7 separate regions of the Homo sapiens genome follow, and all the other regions are linked to region 1. The links are contacts of gene promoters, found by promoter capture Hi-C in blood cells and fetal thymus (Javierre and others, 2016). All regions are on one chromosome and are shown on one strand. The core of a region is centred on a gene start or on the middle of the fragment in contact, and the rest is flanking DNA. Distances in the headings are between cores, read along the strand shown. Region 1 holds the start of LCT (lactase). Region 2 overlaps CCNT2 (cyclin T2). Region 3 overlaps CCNT2 (cyclin T2). Region 4 has its middle 42 kb from the start of CCNT2. Region 5 overlaps MAP3K19 (mitogen-activated protein kinase kinase kinase 19). Region 6 overlaps MAP3K19 (mitogen-activated protein kinase kinase kinase 19). Region 7 overlaps RAB3GAP1 (RAB3 GTPase activating protein catalytic subunit 1).

Evidence for each region. The method cuts DNA at HindIII sites, captures the fragments that hold promoters and counts their contacts. A CHiCAGO score of 5 or more calls a contact.
Region 2: a fragment that was not itself captured here is called in contact with the fragment with the promoter of LCT in region 1 in 1 of 17 cell types (erythroblasts); the score reaches 7.5 in erythroblasts.
Region 3: a fragment that was not itself captured here is called in contact with the fragment with the promoter of LCT in region 1 in 6 of 17 cell types (erythroblasts, fetal thymus, total CD4 T cells and 3 more); the score reaches 12.5 in erythroblasts.
Region 4: a contact is called between a fragment that was not itself captured here and the fragment with the promoter of LCT in region 1, in 4 of 17 cell types (erythroblasts, naive CD8 T cells, activated CD4 T cells and 1 more). The highest score is 7.1, in erythroblasts.
Region 5: a contact is called between a fragment that was not itself captured here and the fragment with the promoter of LCT in region 1, in 12 of 17 cell types (erythroblasts, naive CD8 T cells, megakaryocytes and 9 more). The highest score is 11.9, in erythroblasts.
Region 6: a fragment that was not itself captured here is called in contact with the fragment with the promoter of LCT in region 1 in 1 of 17 cell types (naive CD8 T cells); the score reaches 5.2 in naive CD8 T cells.
Region 7: a fragment that was not itself captured here is called in contact with the fragment with the promoter of LCT in region 1 in 1 of 17 cell types (naive CD8 T cells); the score reaches 5.9 in naive CD8 T cells.

Annotation. Positions count from the first base shown.
Region 1 is chr2:135,835,866-135,838,463 of GRCh38, reverse strand. LCT (lactase) reads left to right here and starts at 1,280. Exons shown (of 17, transcript NM_002299.4): 1 at 1,280-1,934. The coding sequence starts at 1,295. The HindIII fragment of the contact is 13,164 bases long and covers 1-2,598 here.
Region 2 is chr2:134,923,410-134,926,007 of GRCh38, reverse strand. The region is part of intron 2 of CCNT2 (cyclin T2); the gene reads right to left. Among named protein-coding and RNA genes, the nearest start is that of CCNT2, 5.9 kb to the right of the region's middle. The HindIII fragment of the contact is 4,940 bases long and covers 1-2,598 here.
Region 3 is chr2:134,940,376-134,942,973 of GRCh38, reverse strand. It overlaps CCNT2 (cyclin T2), which reads right to left. Exons shown (of 9, transcript NM_058241.3): 5 at 300-362. Among named protein-coding and RNA genes, the nearest start is that of CCNT2, 23 kb to the right of the region's middle. The HindIII fragment of the contact is 1,155 bases long and covers 720-1,874 here.
Region 4 is chr2:134,959,375-134,961,972 of GRCh38, reverse strand. No RefSeq gene overlaps it. Among named protein-coding and RNA genes, the nearest start is that of CCNT2, 42 kb to the right of the region's middle. The HindIII fragment of the contact is 2,736 bases long and covers 1-2,598 here.
Region 5 is chr2:134,991,423-134,994,020 of GRCh38, reverse strand. MAP3K19 (mitogen-activated protein kinase kinase kinase 19) reads left to right here. Exons shown (of 13, transcript NM_025052.5): 9 at 2,441-2,484. Among named protein-coding and RNA genes, the nearest start is that of MAP3K19, 55 kb to the left of the region's middle. The HindIII fragment of the contact is 2,696 bases long and covers 1-2,598 here.
Region 6 is chr2:135,033,255-135,035,852 of GRCh38, reverse strand. All of the region lies in intron 2 of MAP3K19 (mitogen-activated protein kinase kinase kinase 19), which reads left to right. Among named protein-coding and RNA genes, the nearest start is that of MAP3K19, 13 kb to the left of the region's middle. The HindIII fragment of the contact is 6,241 bases long and covers 1-2,598 here.
Region 7 is chr2:135,098,944-135,101,541 of GRCh38, reverse strand. All of the region lies in intron 5 of RAB3GAP1 (RAB3 GTPase activating protein catalytic subunit 1), which reads right to left. Among named protein-coding and RNA genes, the nearest start is that of SNORA40B, 36 kb to the left of the region's middle. The HindIII fragment of the contact is 746 bases long and covers 909-1,654 here.

The sequences.
Region 1 (2,598 bases), core at 31-2,530:
ATATTTTAAATGTTATACACGTTTCCATTTGTATTTACGTAATAATAATGATCCCTGAGCTGTACTGTTGTATACATGCTACAAGAAAGACCCATTTAATCCCCACAGCCTATGATGAATTATCCACATTCTACAGGTGACAAAATAGAGGCACAAAGTTAAGTAATTTTTGTCAGGTGAGATTTAAACCCAGGCATTCTGACTCCTGTATAACCATTAAGATATGCAGAGAAAGAAAACTGGAAAGATACATATTGCTGAAGATACTTATTATAGGAAGAGGAGGGGGGAGGGTGAAGGAATTTGCAAGTTTTTCATAGATGTTTCCATATTGTTTGAATCTCTTACAAAATATGTTCAGCATATTTTTAAAGAGAAAATTTGGGGCAAAATACTTATTTTTGTATTATGTAAACAAATTTTAAAATAATGTGTGGCTGGGTGCGCTGGCTCACACCTGTAATCCCAACACTTTAGGAGGCTGAGGCAAGAGGATTGCTTGAGCCCAGGAGTTCAAGACCAGCCTGGGTGACATGGCAAAACTCCATCTCTACTAAAAATACAAAAAATTAGCCAGTCGTGGTGGCGCACACCTATGGTCCCACCTACCCAGGATGCTGAGATGGGAGGATCACTTGAGCCCAGGAAGTCAAGGCTGCAGGAAGCTGTGATCGCACCACTGCACTCCCACCTGGGCAACAGAGTGAGACCCGGTCACCAAAAAACAAAAAAAACAAAAAAAATTGGTAATCGTTTTCTTCAGACATTTTCCGGGTTCCTCTGCTTAACTTGTATAGGAAGTCTGAGGTTTTTGTGTTGGTCTTTACCTTTTTTTTTTTTTTTTTTTTTTAAGATGGAGTCTCATTCTGTTGCCCAGGCTGGAGTGCAGTGGCATGATCTTGGCTCCTGCAACCTCCGCCTCCTGGGTTCAAGTGATTCTCCTGCCTCAGCCTCCTGAGTAGCCGGGACTACAGGCGCATGCCACGATGCCTGGCTAATTTTTTGTATTTTTAGTAGAGATGGGGTTTCACCATGTTAGCTAGGACGGTCTCGATCTCCTGACCTCGTGATCCGCCCACCTCGGCCTCCCAAAGTGCTGGAATTACAGGTGTGAGCCACCACGCCCGGCCCTGATCTTTACATTTTTAAATATTGCATTAGTGAACCGTGTACTGATTTTGTGATCATAGATAACCCAGTTAAATATTAAGTCTTAATTATCACTTAGTATTTTACAACCTCAGTTGCAGTTATAAAGTAAGGGTTCCACATACCTCCTAACAGTTCCTAGAAAATGGAGCTGTCTTGGCATGTAGTCTTTATTGCCCTGCTAAGTTTTTCATGCTGGGGGTCAGACTGGGAGTCTGATAGAAATTTCATTTCCACCGCTGGTCCTCTAACCAATGACTTGCTGCACAACCTGAGTGGTCTCCTGGGAGACCAGAGTTCTAACTTTGTAGCAGGGGACAAAGACATGTATGTTTGTCACCAGCCACTGCCCACTTTCCTGCCAGAATACTTCAGCAGTCTCCATGCCAGTCAGATCACCCATTATAAGGTATTTCTGTCATGGGCACAGCTCCTCCCAGCAGGAAGCACCCAGAATCCAGACGAGAAAACAGTGCAGTGCTACCGGCGACTCCTCAAGGCCCTCAAGACTGCACGGCTTCAGCCCATGGTCATCCTGCACCACCAGACCCTCCCTGCCAGCACCCTCCGGAGAACCGAAGCCTTTGCTGACCTCTTCGCCGACTATGCCACATTCGCCTTCCACTCCTTCGGGGACCTAGTTGGGATCTGGTTCACCTTCAGTGACTTGGAGGAAGTGATCAAGGAGCTTCCCCACCAGGAATCAAGAGCGTCACAACTCCAGACCCTCAGTGATGCCCACAGAAAAGCCTATGAGATTTACCACGAAAGCTATGCTTTTCAGGGTGAGTACACATTGACCTGATGGTGACCCCTCGGCAACCTTCATCACACACCTTCCCCATCCTCCTTAGAGCAGATTCGACATTTCTCCCAACTCACCTTCAGCAGTCCTCTTATGTCTGTGCATAGGGAGAAATTAATATTGTAAATTGATTTCCCACTGGCGATAGGAAGGGGTAGCTAACATGGCAAAACACTCAGCATTTCCTTTGAAAAATATCTTTGAGGCTCACGCCTGTAATCCTAGCACTTTGGGAGGCCGAGGTGGGCGGATCACTTGAAGTCAGGAGTTCGAGACCAGCCTGGCCAATATGGCAAAACCCCGTCTCTACTAAAAATACCAAAATTAGCCAGGGATGGTAGCAGGCGCCTGTGATCCCAGCTACTCGGGAGGCTTAGGCAGGAGAATTGCTTGAACCCAGGAGGCAGATGTTGCAGTGAGCCGAAATCATGCCACTGTACTACAGCCTGTGCGACAGAGCAAGACACAATCTCAAAAAAAAAAAATATGTATACATATATATATATATATATATATATATATATATATATATACACACATGTATTTTTGAAATACCCCTTGCCCAGTCTTGAGTTGTGCAAGCACTGATTGTCTTTCTGTCTTCCTTTCCGTCTATGTCCTGCTACCCTGACTTGGAGGCAAAG
Region 2 (2,598 bases), core at 41-2,540, 910 kb after region 1:
TGTAATTCCAGCTACTTGGGAGGCTAAGGTGGGGGAATCACTTGAACCCAGGAGGTTGATGCTGCAGTGAGCCATGATTGTGCCACTGCACTCCAGCCCGGGTGTCAGAGGGAGACCTAGTCTCAAAAAAAAAAAAAAAAAAAAAAAAGGCAGCTATCCAAGTTTCCAATATTATTGGAATCTAGAGTTACCATATGATCCAGCAATTCTACTCCTGGGTATAAGCCCAAGAGAAACCAAAAACACAAGTCTACACAAAAACTTGTACACAAATGTTCTTAAGAGCACTATTCATATTAGCCAAAAAGTGGCTAACAATCCAAATGCCCACCAACTGATGAACATATATATATAATGTGGTCTAGCCATACAGTGGAATAATGGGTAGTACAGCAAGAAAAGTAAACAACCTACTGAATAAATACAACAACATAGATGAGCCTTGAAAACACGGTAAGTGAAAGAAGTCAGTCACAAAGGACAACATACTGTAGGATTCCATTAATGAAATGTCTATTAATAGGCTGGGGGAAAAATAGGGAGAAATGACTGCGGGGTTGGGGGTTTCTTTTTGGTGTAGTGAAGACTTCTAAAAATTGATGCACACCTCTGTGAATATTCTTAAAAAAACCCACAAACCCCACGGAATCATACTTTCAATGGGTGAAATGTACAATATGTGAATTATATCACAAAAAGGGCAAAAATCCAGTAATTATCCTATATGATACGTGCCACTGGGTGTCCATATGAGATGAATCAAGAATTCCAATACAAAAATACCAATTTGTAAGAAAGAAATGACAGAATTAGAGTATCACCAATGAATGAAAGGACCCAGGCATTGAATATCAGCAGCCACTAACACTACAAAGAGAGACAACCAGACTTTAGACCTTCTGACCAAAGAACATTAACACCATCTATAGCCTTGCCTAAGGGATCTAACAGGAGTCTGATTAAGTTTCTGGATCTAATCATCAATTTTTCCAGGAATGCAAGAAAAAAGGAACACAGTAAACTGCACCATGAGTATACAATCAGCAAAATTCAGACAGTTGGAAACTCTACAGGTCACACACTCTAGGGTCCTTCAACAGCTACAACTTAGTTGACATAAAAAGATGGAGGGGAAACATGCATACTGAGAGACTTCAAAGACTTACCAAATTTTTAATAATGAGCAAGGTCTATGGTATTTGGGAATGCAGAGTTGGGTGCTAAAACTATAAAGAAAGTGATTAGAGTAAGAATACTGGGGCCGGGCGAGGTGGCTAACGCCTGTAATCCCAGCACTTTGGGAGGTCGAGGTGGGGGGAATCACGAGGTCAGGAGTTTGAGACCAGCCAGACCAACATGGTGAAAACCCGTCTCTACTAAAAATACAAAAATTAGCTGGGCATGGTGGTGCATGCCTGTAATCCCAGCTACCCAGGAGGCTAAGGCAGGAGATTCACTTGAACTCAGGAGGCGGAGGTTGCAGCGAGCCGAGATTGCACCACTGCACTCCAGCCTGGGCGACAAGACCAGACTCCTATCTCAAAAAAATAAAAAAGAATACTGGTTACTTTTGGAGGGAGGGGATCGACACTGAGTTGAGCACGTGGAGACATTCCGGGGTAGTTGGCAAAGTTCTATTTCTTGACTTGGTTGGTGATTACAAGGTTGTTTTATAATAATCCACTATACATTTGTTTGGTGGTTTTATATATTTTACAATTAAAAAGAAAACACTCATCTCATATATGTACAGTTACACTACAGCACTATAAACTCCCAAATAGATGGAATACAACTGGATGTGAATAAGATTCAAAGGTAAGATCAGAGAGATAAATTCACAAATGGAAAAGAGAGTTATCTGGGGAATGCTTTATGAAAGAGTAGCAACTTCAGCTGAGTCTTAAAACCTGACAGAGCACAGTCACATGAAAGCAAAGAGAAAGCACCCTAAGGAAAAACAGTGATACACAATGCATAAATGCTAACACTGATGTATAGTTGAAAAAGAGGAATTTGGGACTTATAAAGAGGACCTCATTGGATTTAGTGCAATGAGGCGGGCAAATAAAAATCTGAGGTTTTTTCATTGTTTACTTTATAAATCTTACAAATCACTGGCATAAATTGCTACTGTGCTCTACTTCTGAAATATACTAGAACAGGAAAAAGTGAGAACTACAGTTTGGGATTAAGCAAAGGACTTGGGTTCAAATCCCAGCCACGTAATAGTTTTAATTTCGGACAAGTCACTTGGTAACTGCGTCTGCTTCCTTAGGAGAATACTTTACCTGAGAAAACAAGACAAATATAAAGTGCCTGGCATAGTGAGATCTTAATAAAATTTCAACCAGGTAATTTATAGTTTAAAAGGAATTTAAAAATCATCTAGGCTAATCGTCTCAAATTTACAGGTTAGTACCTACTACATTGAAGAGCACAGATACACAAAACTTGCGCTATGCAGAAAGTTCTACTGGACAGCACTGCAGTATTTCCAAGTAATGCTAATGGATCTTGGGCATAAGATTATTGTTGGATTAATTATTGCTTTATTAAACTAAAAGGCAGAAAGAGAAGTAAGCTATAAACACCTGC
Region 3 (2,598 bases), core at 48-2,547, 900 kb after region 1:
TTGACTGAAATGGGACTAGCAAAGCTCAATGGGGGATGGATAGAGTCCTAATACTTGGAAGCCCTCCGGAGTTTTAGTGAAATGAGATTCTTACCTATGTTTAAAGGAAGCTAACATACCAGGTAGAATCACAAATAGAAGTAGATGTAGAACACTAAAAAGTAATGCTTAAAAAATGACATTTCTCCCTAATTTTAATGAAACCTAACAAAAGGCTAGAAAAACAAAATAGCACCCAAATCAATTACAGATAATAAAAAGCATTAATACTTATCTTAAAAGTTTCAAGGATCACCTACCTCTTACTAACTGGGTACATTTCACCACATCTGTGTGTGGGTGTTCAATGGTGATCTCAAAACCTGAAATGATAAGCACTTTTTTTTCCAATCTCTTACCACTACAGTACTTGCCTGAGAAATGCCATAAACGTATAATATATTCTTCATTATTAAGAAAAATCCAAAGTTATAAGTTTCTCATCACTGACATTCTCATTACTTTTCCAATGACAAGATATAATTTTTCAAATACAATGTCTCAATTATGAAAATAAAGTTAAAAGACCAAGGGTAAATTTATTCAAAATTCTGAATTATAAATGATTCGGGATTATCTTAAAAACAAATTAAATTCCTGGCAAATACAACTGTTAAGCTGGTCCCACAATTTAAGGACGGAATTCAACTACGTAATATCTTTCTTAATATTCCAAAGCTTTCTTTCAGAAGACATGAAAAGTGCAGTTTTCATAAACATAACTGTTGGGCCACAGTGGTAGAAACGAGCTTTTAAATGATACGGCACTCTAGATCAAAGGGTTTCAACCAGTTACCTTATAACCATACTTCATTAATAATCAAAATCATATGACAAACCATAGAGGTCTCATGACTGCTTAAACTACTGTTTCTAATACCAAAGATGAAATGTTTAAAAGCTATCAACGTGCAATCAACCCTTAGGTGTGGCAGGGTTTCTGTTTTTATTAAAAGTGAAGATCACATTTGGTTGTCTTCAGAAGCAGTAAGTAAATAAAATCCTAACAAATGGGTAATCTAGATTTATAAAGTTGTTGTGTGGTCTATATATAGTTCTACTGTAATTAAATATGCAGAATACTTTAAAGCCATAGAGGCATATCTTCTAAATTCTAATGTTCCCCTTAAAATAACACTTTTCATTCTCTGTGCTTAAGAATATGTCATAAACAATATGGATATTACATTACGATTTTATATAACAACTAAATATTTTATAATGATTTATGATTTTTCATTTTCAATTTTTTACTTAAATGAAATTTATATAATTTTGTATAGTAAAACAATAACATGCTAAATCATTGGATTTGGAAGAAATAAGACCCTCACTTTTTTGGTATCTTTTTATTTTATAGAAACTTCAAATAATTTACAGCTGACCTCTGAACAACGCAGGGCCTAGGGGTGCCGATCCCCATGCAGTCGAAAATCCAAGTACTCCCCTAAGACTTAACTATCGTTGATCAGAACCTGCTTACCGCTGAAGCCTTACTGGTAACATAAACAGTTAATCAACACATATTTTGTATATGTATCATATACTGTATTTTTACAACACAGTAAGCTAAAGAAACTATTAAGAAAATCATAAGGAAGAGAAAATGTATTTACTAGTATTAAGTGGAAGTGGATCATCATAAAGGTCTCCATACAGAGTAGGCTGAGGAAGAGGGGTTGGTCTTACTGTCTCAGGTTGGAAGACACAAAAGAGGAGGCAGGAGAGGCAGGCAACACCTGGTGTAACTTTACAGAAATACACCACAATTTCTGTCTTTCGCTGGCATTAAATTCTCTGGCTTTAGATCCTTCACCTTCCCTTTGCTTTAAGCTTCTCTCCAATCATATTAGAGTCCATAGGTATGCCTTTCTTACAGCAATCCTGCATTCACATAAAAGCTTCATTTTCAATATGAGATAAAGTGCAAGGTTTTTGTGCCTGCTGGTATAGCTGCAGCGATGACTTCACAAATGTCTTTTTCTTCTTTCACACTGAACCTTACACTGGATTCATTTATCTTGAAATGGGCAACTGTAGCTACAGACCTCAATCTACAGTACATATCAAACAATTCAACTTTTTTTTGTAACATCACAACTTTCATCTGCTTCTTGGGAGCACTTCTGGCATCACTAGAGGCACTTTGTATGGGTCCCATGGTATTAATCCAAGTTTCCAGTATCGCACTAAATACGGTAAAAATATGCCAGAACCTCTTTTACCGCAATATGTAATTTACTGGAGAGACAAACTGTTCAGAGATGACAGGTGTCACACAGCATTTTACGTGGATACTCATAACATGTGAGCTCACTGCAATAGCAACAGGAGGTGGCTACAAAATTATCACAGCAGTACAGTTACGTATTATTAAAATTAATTTTATGTACCTTTACATTTGTTTATTTACATTTTCTCTTAACTGCGAATAGAGCCACATATTGTCTGTTTGTGTGCCTAACTTTTTAAAATTTTTATCTTTTAAAAATAGATTTATGTATATTTTATGGCAGTAAATGATAAAATAGACTAATATCTATATATAGTTTATGCATT
Region 4 (2,598 bases), core at 63-2,562, 880 kb after region 1:
CCCAAGGCACAACCGCTGAGTTTTCAATCACATTGAAAACTCATCTTATTATGTACTAAATTCCTGTATGCTCTGGGCCCAAGCTCAACCAAAGACATTTTAACCCCCAAGTTCTAAAAAGTAGATCTACAGCATCTCCTTAACTTTAACCTACTTTAGTCGTACACTGTGTAATGAGTAGCTCCAAGATAATAACCCACTTAATCTGCTCAAGGAGCAGCCAAAAGCTGCATACCATCACCTACCAGGCCGTCTTTCTTCTTCATACGAGCTGCACTTACAAGTATTAATTCAGTTTAAAGCAGCTATTTAAATGCAGAAACTTGCATTTTAAAAATCTTTCCAGGTGATTCTGCCAATTAAAAAATCTCTGGTGTAAGCAGCCTCTCTCTCTACTGGTAATAAAGTTTAAAAAAAAGTTTGTATATGCCATTACACTGTCAAGTTTATAGAGGATAGTGCTTTCTCCTATTGACAGGACATCACGACATTATGAAAATCCATGGCTGAATTCATCCATAAAGCAGTCACTAACAGGCTGACGTGAAAGACTATAGAAAACTGGCCTCCTCAACTGTGTCTGAACATTTGAAAGGTCTAAGTAAGCCTCTTAATTTCATGGCAATATAATAAAAATATTTTGTCAGTGAGGCCCTACATTGTTTTGGGAGGTGGTATTGAGGGGAAGGAATAGGCAGGCCATATGCTACAGCTAAAATAAAAACATACAATTTATTATATTGAAAAGTGCAGGGGGCAGGGGTGAAGGAATAAACAATGGACTTAGATGAGTTTGGTTAGATGGAATTACTCACTTTGTAAAGTTAAAACCCATCCAATTTATTATGTTAATAGAACAAGCCCTTACTGGTGTCAGCACCAGTGAGACAAATCTCTTAACTGTGATACAAAAAATATTTATGTTACATTTAGGCTGAAAATGTTTTATTTTTAATTAAAAAAAAATTTTTTTTTTTTTGAGATGGAGTCTTGCTCTGTCGCCTAGGCTGGAGTGCAGTGGCGCTATCTCGGCTCACTGCAACCTCTGCCTCCCAGGCTCAAGCGATTCTCTCCTGCCTCAGCCTCCTGAGTAGCTGGGACTACAGGCGCGCACCACAACGCCCAGCTAATTTTTTTGTATTTTTTAGTAGAGACAGGGTTTCGCCATGTTGGTCAGGCTGTTCTCGAACTCCTCACCTCAGGTGACCCGCCCACCTTGGCCTCAAACTCCCAAAGTGCTGGGATTACAGGCATAAGCCACCGTACCCGGCCTGAAAATCTATTTTAAAAGAAGCGACTTTTCTATCCTAATTCTACTTTATCAAAGTTATTGCAATTAGCTTTCATTTTCTTTCAAGTGGAAGGTGCAGGGAAATTGCTGGTAAGGAGAGGGAAGCTGGCGAGCAGCCTTATTAAAGAACAGCTTATGCTTAAATATTTTTGAAGGGGCCGGGCATGGTGGCTCACACCTGTAATCCTAGCACTTTTGCAGGCCAAGGTGGGCGGATTGCTTGAGCCTAGGAGTTTGAAACCACCCTGGGCAACGTATCAAAACCCCGTTCTACCAAACACAAGAACAACAACAAAACAAAACAAAACAAAACAAACAAAAAAACCACAAAAAAACCCCCCAAAATTAGCCGGGCATGGTGGCACATGCCTGTAGTCCCAGCTACTCAGGAGGCTGAGGTTGGATGATCGCTTGAGCCTGGGAGGCGGAGGCTATAGTAAGCCAAAAATCACACCACTGTACTGTACTCTAGCTTGGCTGACAGTGAGAACTTGTCTCAAAAAATAAAAAATTTTAAATGGGTACTGCAACTATTCTTTGTGCTTTTTATGGGAGTGATGCAAGAGGTTAGACAAGAAAATCTTAAAACAGAAATTAGAATGAACAACTTAAGAGAATTCTGGACACAGCGGGCATGCAGTATTTAATATGTTCCAGTTACACACCTGGATTGGCCTTCATCATTCCAATATCCCACATCTACCCCTCAATTAGGATTCTCTTTAATGCTATTCTATCTAGCCTTCCTTGACCATCCAAGCCTTACACAACTCTATGATGAACAGGTACTACTACTAACACTTTGTAGGGAAGAAAAAGCATGAGATCAAGTAATTCACCCAATGCCATTCTGTTATTAAATGGTAGGGCTGAGACTAGAGCATGGACCATTTGATCCCAGAGCCTGCACTCCTGAATGATACATGAAATTACTTGGATAAAGGGTCAATTATACTAGAGATCTCACATTTTCCAGGGACTGAAAGTTACTTCTGTTTTTGTTGTTGTTAAGGAATCTTGCTCTGTCGCCCAGGCTGGAGTGCAGTGGTGCGATCTCGGGCTCTCTGCAACCTCTGCCTCCTGGGTTCAAGCGATTCTCTTGCCTCAGCCTCCCGAGTAGCTGGGATTACAGGCATGCACCACCACACCCGGCTAATTTTTGTATTTTTAGTAGAGACAGGGTTTCACCATGTTGACCAGGGTTGTGTTGAACTCCTGACCTCAGGTTATCCGCCTGCCTTGGCCTCCCAAAGTGCTGGGATTACAGGCATGAGCCACTGCGCCCCACCTCAAAGTTACTTCTGATT
Region 5 (2,598 bases), core at 46-2,545, 840 kb after region 1:
TTACTTTTTTGGAGATAGGGTCTCGCTCTGTTGCCCATGCTGGAGTGCAGTGGTGCAAACATGGCTCGCTGCAGCCTCAATATTCCAGGCTTAAGTGATCCTCCACCACAGCCTCCTGAGTAGCTGGGAGTACAGGTGCATGGCACCACACCTGGCTACTTTTAACATTTTTTGTAGAGATGGGGTCTCGCTATGTTGCTCAGAGTGGTCTCTACACATTTTTAAAAGGCTTTGACACATGTTACCAAATTACCTACCAGAAAGATCTTGCCTCTACATTCCCACCAAAAGTCTTTACCCCACATAATTCCTGACCAATACTGGATAATACATATTCAAATATTTATAAGAATACTTGAAAGCGTTTTTTTAAAAAATTCAGGATGCTATCCATTATGTACCCAACTATAAATTATATTCAGTTGTATTTCTAGATTAACTTCTAACATCTTTTCAATAGAAAACCTCAACCTCTAGAATGCAACCTCTGGGAGCAAAGAGCAAAGATCTGTCTTTCCTGCCCACAACTATAAATTGCCATCTTCTGGGACAGTGTTGGCCACTCAGCAGGCACTCAGTAAATAATTGTTGAGTAAATGCATTAAGAATGAAGGGGAGGTGCCATGGCCAGCTGTGTCCAAGGGGAATGCCTGTGCCCCCTCCTGTTGCCTGTTGGGGTCCTCTTCTTAGGTGACTTGTTTTTCACCTGGGATTGGCTTTTCTACTGTGTTAAATCTTAGAAGTCTTTTTCTCTCCGTGTGAAACTTCAGAATGACAGCCTGAGGCTGAAATGGACCTACAGACATTTGTTTGACCCTCACAACATTGAAAAACAAGGGAGGAGAGGCCAGGCCCAGTGGCTCACACCTGGAATCCCAGAACTTTGGGAAGCCAAGAAGGGAGGATTGTTTGAGCCTAGGAGTTTGAGACCAGCCTGGGCAATACAGTAAGACCCTGTCTATACAAAAAATTAAAAATATAAAAATTTTAAATAAATAAGCAAGGGTGGGGGAAGGAGATTTCACATAAAACCTGCAGCTTGGGTTGGGCGCGGTGGCTCACACCTGTAATCCCAGCACTTTGGGAGGCCGAGGCCGGTGGATCACGAGGTCAAGTGTTCGAGACCAGCCTAGCCAACATAGTGAAACCCCGTGTCTACTAAAAAATAAAAAATACACAAAAAATTAGCCGGGCATGATGGCAGGTGCCTGTAATCCCAGCTTCTCGGGAGGCTGAGGCAGGAGAATTGCTTGAACCCAGGAGGTGGAGGTTGCAGCGAGCTGAGATCATGCCACTATACTCCAGCCTGGGCGACAGAGCGAGACCCTGTCTCAAAAAAAAAAAATCTGCAGCTCTCTGGCTTCTTTTGGAAGATGTAGCAGGGCTGGACTATCTATCTGGGTTGGATAACATCACTGCGAGCTGGGTAATGATGCCCCTTTAGTTGGGCATATGATCTCGATTTACTGCTGTGTCTTCCTGTCCCACATCATCCATTTCTGTGAACTGTTTTGACCCTGGAGACACTGGAGCTTTTGGCTTCAGCTTTAGAAAGTCCAAACTATGCAGAAGTGGTGGTGGTGGTGGTTCATGGGGTTTTGGGGATCATTCTGACTTTTTGGTAAGAAGAGAACAACTTGTAAGTTTTATACTACCTAGTAAGTCCCATCTCGTTCCCTAGGTGAGTCTTCCTCACACTCACCTTTCAGAGTTTATGGTCGATCTAGTTTAAACAACTGTTGGGAGACACTTATACAAGAATATTTTCACATTTCTGCACAGTTCAGGCTTTCTAAGCAAAAAACACTAGGAAACTAAGTTAAAAGATGACTGAATGTCAGAAACGCCTCCGAAGTTAGTGTATTGCTCCAGAGAAATTTAGAGGCTGATTTTCCCAAAAGCTGTTTGCTTATATTCTAGGGTAATAAAACATAGAGTCATCTTTCTCCTGGAGGCATTTGCTTACAATTCATAGTAAAGTGCTCTCTCCTTCTCTGGAGGGAAAGATGGGCTAAAGTGCCACCACCCAATATACCACCTGAGTCTCATCATTCCAGAGCTCCCTCCTGTGATGCAGCTCTGCCAGCTGTGCAGGTCAACACCCGGCTCTCATCACGTTGCCCTGTGAGGAACTGGGTTGTGGGGAACTGGCATTACAATGTTCTGTGAGTGATAAATGGTCTGCTCTCTGGTCCAGAGATCTCAGGTTTTCTGTCAGAATAGAGATATAAATATAAAACAGCAACCCCTGCTAGTGGCAGCAGCCTGAAGTTTTGTGTGATGATTCCACCTCTGTGTGAATTCCACAGGGGAAACCTCCAATTTCTACAACTTTTCCTCAGACCCCTTAGCATCTGTATTACTCCATCCCCAGACTCTGGCTTGAGACTGTTTTCTTTCTACTACTAAGAATATCCAGTTATTGTTTTTCTTGTTGTAGAGTTTTCGACCTCTCATATGAAGTACAGTGGCCGAAGCATCAAGGTAAGATTAGTGCTAGCATTTTTGACTTGAGAATTAAAACCAAACAACTCTATTCACTAATTTAGAACCAAATCCTCAGCAATTACACTTGACCCTTCAACAATGCAGGGGGTA
Region 6 (2,598 bases), core at 66-2,565, 800 kb after region 1:
CAAAAAGGAAAAAAAAATCTTGCATTTTTGAAGTATAGAAAGGTGACTTGATCTTGCAGAGGGAGGGTGAAGAATGGCACAAGATAAAGCTGGAAATGCAGGCAGGGGCTGGATCATGCAAAGCCATAAAGGCATGCAAAGCCATTTTCAAAAACAGCTTTATTGAGATAAAATTCATATACCATACAATTTACTTACTTAAAGTGGCCACTTCCATGTTTTTTTGTATATTCATATTAATGTGCAATCCTCACAATTGATTTTAGAGCACCTATCATCTCAAAAAGAACTTCATCCCCAGAAAAAGAAGATAAAAAGAAACCCGATATCCTTTAGCTATCACTCTATATCCTTTCTTCCCAACTCCCACCCCAGCCCTAAGCAGCCACTTACCTACTTTCTGTTTGTATAGCTGTTCCTTTTTTATTGTTTTTTGTTTGTCTGTTTGTTTGTTTTGAGACAGGATCTCACTCTGTTGCCCAGGCTGGAGTGCAGTAGCACGATCACAGCTCACTGCAGGCCCTACCTCCTGGGCTGAGGTGATCCTCCTGCCTCAGCCTCCCAGGTAGCTGGGACTACAGGCATGTGCCATCATGCCCAGCTAATTTTTGTATTTTTTGTAGAGACAGGGTTTCACCAAGTTGCCCAGGCTGGTCTTGAACTCCTGAGCTAAAGTGATCCACCTGCTTCGGCCTCCCAAAGTGCTGGGATTACAGGTGTGAGCCACCGTGCTTGGCCTCTGTAACTTTTCTTATTTGGGATTTTCATATGAATGGAATCATATAGTATGTGGTCTCCTGTGATTGGCTTCTTTCACTTAGCATAATGTTTTCAAGGTTCATTCATGTTGTAGCATGTGTCAATACTTTATTTTTATAACCAAATAATATCACATTTTCTTGATATACAACATTTTGGGATTTTAGGCTAAAGATAATAGGTTTGCTTCCCTCAAGAAATAGGGTTTGGCTCTCCCTCTCCCTCTCCCTCTCCCCCTCCCCCTCCCCCTCCCCCTCCCCCTCCCCCTCTCCCCACAGCCCACGGTCTCCCCCTCCCTCTCTTTCCACGGTCTCCCTCTGATGCCCAGCCGAAGCTGGACTGTACTGCTGCCATCTCGGCTCACTGCAACCTCCCTGCCTGATTCTCCTGCCTCAGCCTGCCGAGTGCCTGTAGCGCGCCACCACGCCTGACTGGTTTTCTTACTTTTTTGGTGGAGACGGGGTTTCGCTGTGTTGGCCGGGCTGGTCTCCAGCTCCTAACCGCGAGTGATCCGCCAGCCTCGGCCTCCCGAGGTGCCGGGATTGCAGACGGAGTCTGGTTCACTCAGTGCTCAATGGTGCCCAGGCTGGAGTGCAGTGGCGTGATCTCGGCTCGCTACAACCTCCACCTCCCAGCCGCCTGCCTTGGCCTCCCAAAGTGCCGAGATTGCAGCCTCTGCCCGGCCGCCACCCCTTCTGGGAAGTGAGGAGCATCTCTGCCTGGCCACCCATCGTCTGGGACGTGAGGAGCCCCTCTGCCTGGCTGCCCAGTCTGGAAAGTGAGGAGTGCCTCTTCCCGGCCGCCATCCCGTCTGGGAAGTGAGGGGCGTCTCTGCCCGGCCGCCATCCCATCTAGGAAGTGAGGAGCACCTCTTCCCGGCCACCATCCCATCTAGGAAGTAAGGAGCGTCTCTGCCCGGCCGCCCATCGCCTGAGATGTGGGGAGCGCCTCTGCCCCGCGGCCCCGTCTGGGATGTGAGAGCATCCGGCCGCGACCCCGTCTGGGAGGTGAGGAGCATCTCTGCCCGGCCGCCCCATCTGAGAAGTGAGGAGACCCTCCGCCTGGCAACTGCCCCGTCTGAGAAGTGAGGAGCCCCTCCGCCCGGCAGCCGCCCCGTCTGAGAAGTGAGGAGCCCCTACGCCCGGCAGCCACCCTGTCTGGGAAGTGAGGAGCGTCTCCGCCCGGCAGCCACCCCGTCCGGGAGGGAGGTGGGGGTCAGCCCCCGCCAGGCCAGCCACCCCGTCCGGGAGGGAGGTGGGGGGGTCAGCCCCCCCGCCCGGCCAGCCACCCCGTCCGGGAGGTGAGGGGCGCCTCTGCCCGGCCACCCCTACTGGGAAGTGAGGAGCCCCTCTGCCCGGCCAGCCACCCCGTCCGGGAGGGAGGTGGGGGGGGTTAGCCCCCCCGGCCGGCCGCCCGTCCGGGGGGTGGGGGGCGCCTCTGCCCAGCCACCCCTGCTGGGAGGTGGGGAGCCCCTCTGCCCGGCCAGCCGCCCCGTCTGGGAGGGCGGTGGGGGGGTCAGCCCCCCGCCCGCCAGCCGCCCCGTCCGGGAGGTGAGGGGCGCCTCTGCCCGGCTGCCCCTACTGGGAAGTGAGGAGCCCCTCTGCCCGGCCAGCCGCCCCGTCCGGGGGGTGGGGGGCGCCTCTGCCCGACCGCCCCTACTGGGAAGTGAGGATCCCCTCTGCCCGGCCAGCCGCCCCGTCCGGGAGGGCAGTGGGGGGGGTCAGCCCCCCACCCGGCCAGCTGCCCCGTCCGGGAGGTGAGGGGCGCCTCTGCCCAGCCGCTCCTACTGGGAGGTGAGGAGCCCCTCTGCCCGGCCAGCCGCCCTGTCTGGGAGGGAGG
Region 7 (2,598 bases), core at 32-2,531, 740 kb after region 1:
TGAGCATTGGACATAAATCCCAAAAATCTATTTTCTAGAATTTGATTTGAAAATATAAGTTAATCATATAGTAATTTTAAATCACTCTGACAGGGTCAACCTATACTAATTGTATATTTATGGTATAAATAAGTACAGATGCATATATTGCAAAATCGTTTTCAAATTTTCATTGTCATTGCTTTAATTCTGGTTTAACTTTTTAAAATTCAAATTTAAATAAATGTTTAGGTGAAAACTTCTGTGTATGTTATTCTTCAGTATCTCTGAAGCATTACAAGTAATCTGTATCCTTGAAATTTTTGAGAAATGTATTTATTAACAATTACAATAAAAATTATATGAATAAAACAGAAGGAGAATATTATGAAATCCTCTTAAGATGTCTGGTTCACATTAGTCTTAAAATACCCACATACCAAAGTCCTTCTCATCTTTTCCCATTCCCAACCCTCTACTGCTATACCCAACCTTACCAAACTACCTACAAGTTTCAAAAGTGCATTTAAACATCATCACCTCTACTAATTCTGCCTCAAGTATCTTTTTACCTAACTTATTAATTAAGCTTATTCACCTGGTTTATTCTCACTTGTCTTTCAGGATTCATGTGAGGTATCACCTTGTCTGGAAACATTTTCCTGACTTAATCTGTCTGAATTACAGGTACCTCCTATGAGTTTCCATCAAACTTGTGTTCTGCCTCCTATGAGAGCATTTATCACAAAATGTTATTGTTGTCTACTCCCTTATCTATTAATCCCATAGATTACTAAGGCAGTAACCATGTTTTATTCTTGATATTTCTGTATCTGGATCACAGTAAATGTTTAAAAATTATATTTGTTGAATAAAAGAAAATACACATACATTTAATATGCTTAACTTTTAAACAGTTCTCAAAAGCTTTGTTGTTGGCTTCCTAAACTTTAAGAAAGGTCAAGTAAGACAAAACTGAAAGTGACTTCCAACCATACGGCAAACTAACATGACACAGGCCCTCCTTGTCCCAAAACACACAGAAATACCTGATCAAATATGACAATGCTGTCAAAATACACCGCTGAATTTGAAATAATAAAAAGGAGATTCCTGGGTAACAGAAACAAAGAGTATACTGAAAGGCAAAAGCGAGCATAGAAGGTGACTGAAAAATACCAGGGGATGATCAGCTTTGGCTATAGGCCCTAACAGCTGGGCACTGGGAGCTGGGATTTTATAGGGTAAGCCTTTTACTGCTGAAAGTCTGTTAGTTTGACTTATAAAACTGTTTGCAAAACTGACTATGCTGTGCTAGACTGAAGAGAACAAGAATGATGGAAGAAAAGTCTGTTTACGTCTGACAATACCATGTATTTTAGCCTAGCAGTCATAATGTGAATTATATAACTCTGAGATGATAAGGTACACCCAGCCCAGGGAAAGTGGTCTCTGGCATGCATCCAGATTAGGCTATGTCCAAGAATGCCCCAGTCTCATAATAATAAATATAAATAAGTCTACACCCAGAAACTAGGCTTCCAGAAGCACAATATCACTCAGATATCATCATCCATAACTGTGCCTCTGCTTACGAGGCCCTGGGACTTGGAAGCTGCCTATCTTTCTGATGAGATTACCAATCTCTCTGCTATATAACCTAAACGCACAAGCTTCCTTCTGTATCCTTTATATTTAGATTTACTCCATCAATCCAAATCACTACAGAGGTTGTAATGTTTTGAATGACCTCTCAGGGATATGGGTATACATGAGACAAGGTACTGGAACTGAGACTTCTGCTTACATCCTGGACCCTAGAAGGAATTGCCACCTCAATAAAATGAGAATGCCAGGCTCAGAAAGTTTCAAAGGCAAATTCTATCAAACGGTTAAAAAAAAAAAAATTTTACACTCTCTCAAAGAAAATAAAAGAGAACAAAATACTTTCTGACTCACATTATAAGGCCAACATTACTCTGATACCAAAACCAAAGCAGGAGAAAAGAAAATTACAGACCAACATCCCACATGAACATAGACACTGAAGTCCTCAACAAACTATTAGCATATCAAATACAGCAATACACATACATACACACACACACACACACACACACACACACACACAGAAATACAAATTGCACCACAAAGAAGTGGAGTTTATCTTGAGAATGCAAAGCTGGTTATATATCCAAAAATCAGTCAATGCAATCAACATATTAAAAATCTAAAGAAAATAAATCATATCAATTTAAGCAGAAAACAACAATCATATCAATTTAAACAGAAAAAGGATTTGACAAAATTCAACATCCATTCATAATAAAAACTCTCAGCAAAGCAGGAACAAAAGGGAATTTTCTCAATCTGATAAAGAGCATCTACGAAAAAACCTACAGCTAACATCACACTTAACAGTAAAAGACTAAATGCTGTCCCCCTGAGATAAGCAACTCCTATTCAATATTTTACTGGAAGCCCTAGCCAGTTTTAAACAGAAAAAAAAAATGAACAGACTGCTTCATGGTATCTTGTAATACATATTTTTAAAAAAGCACAGAGATTAGAAAAGAAATAATACTATCCATATTCAGAGACAGTGATTGTATATATAGA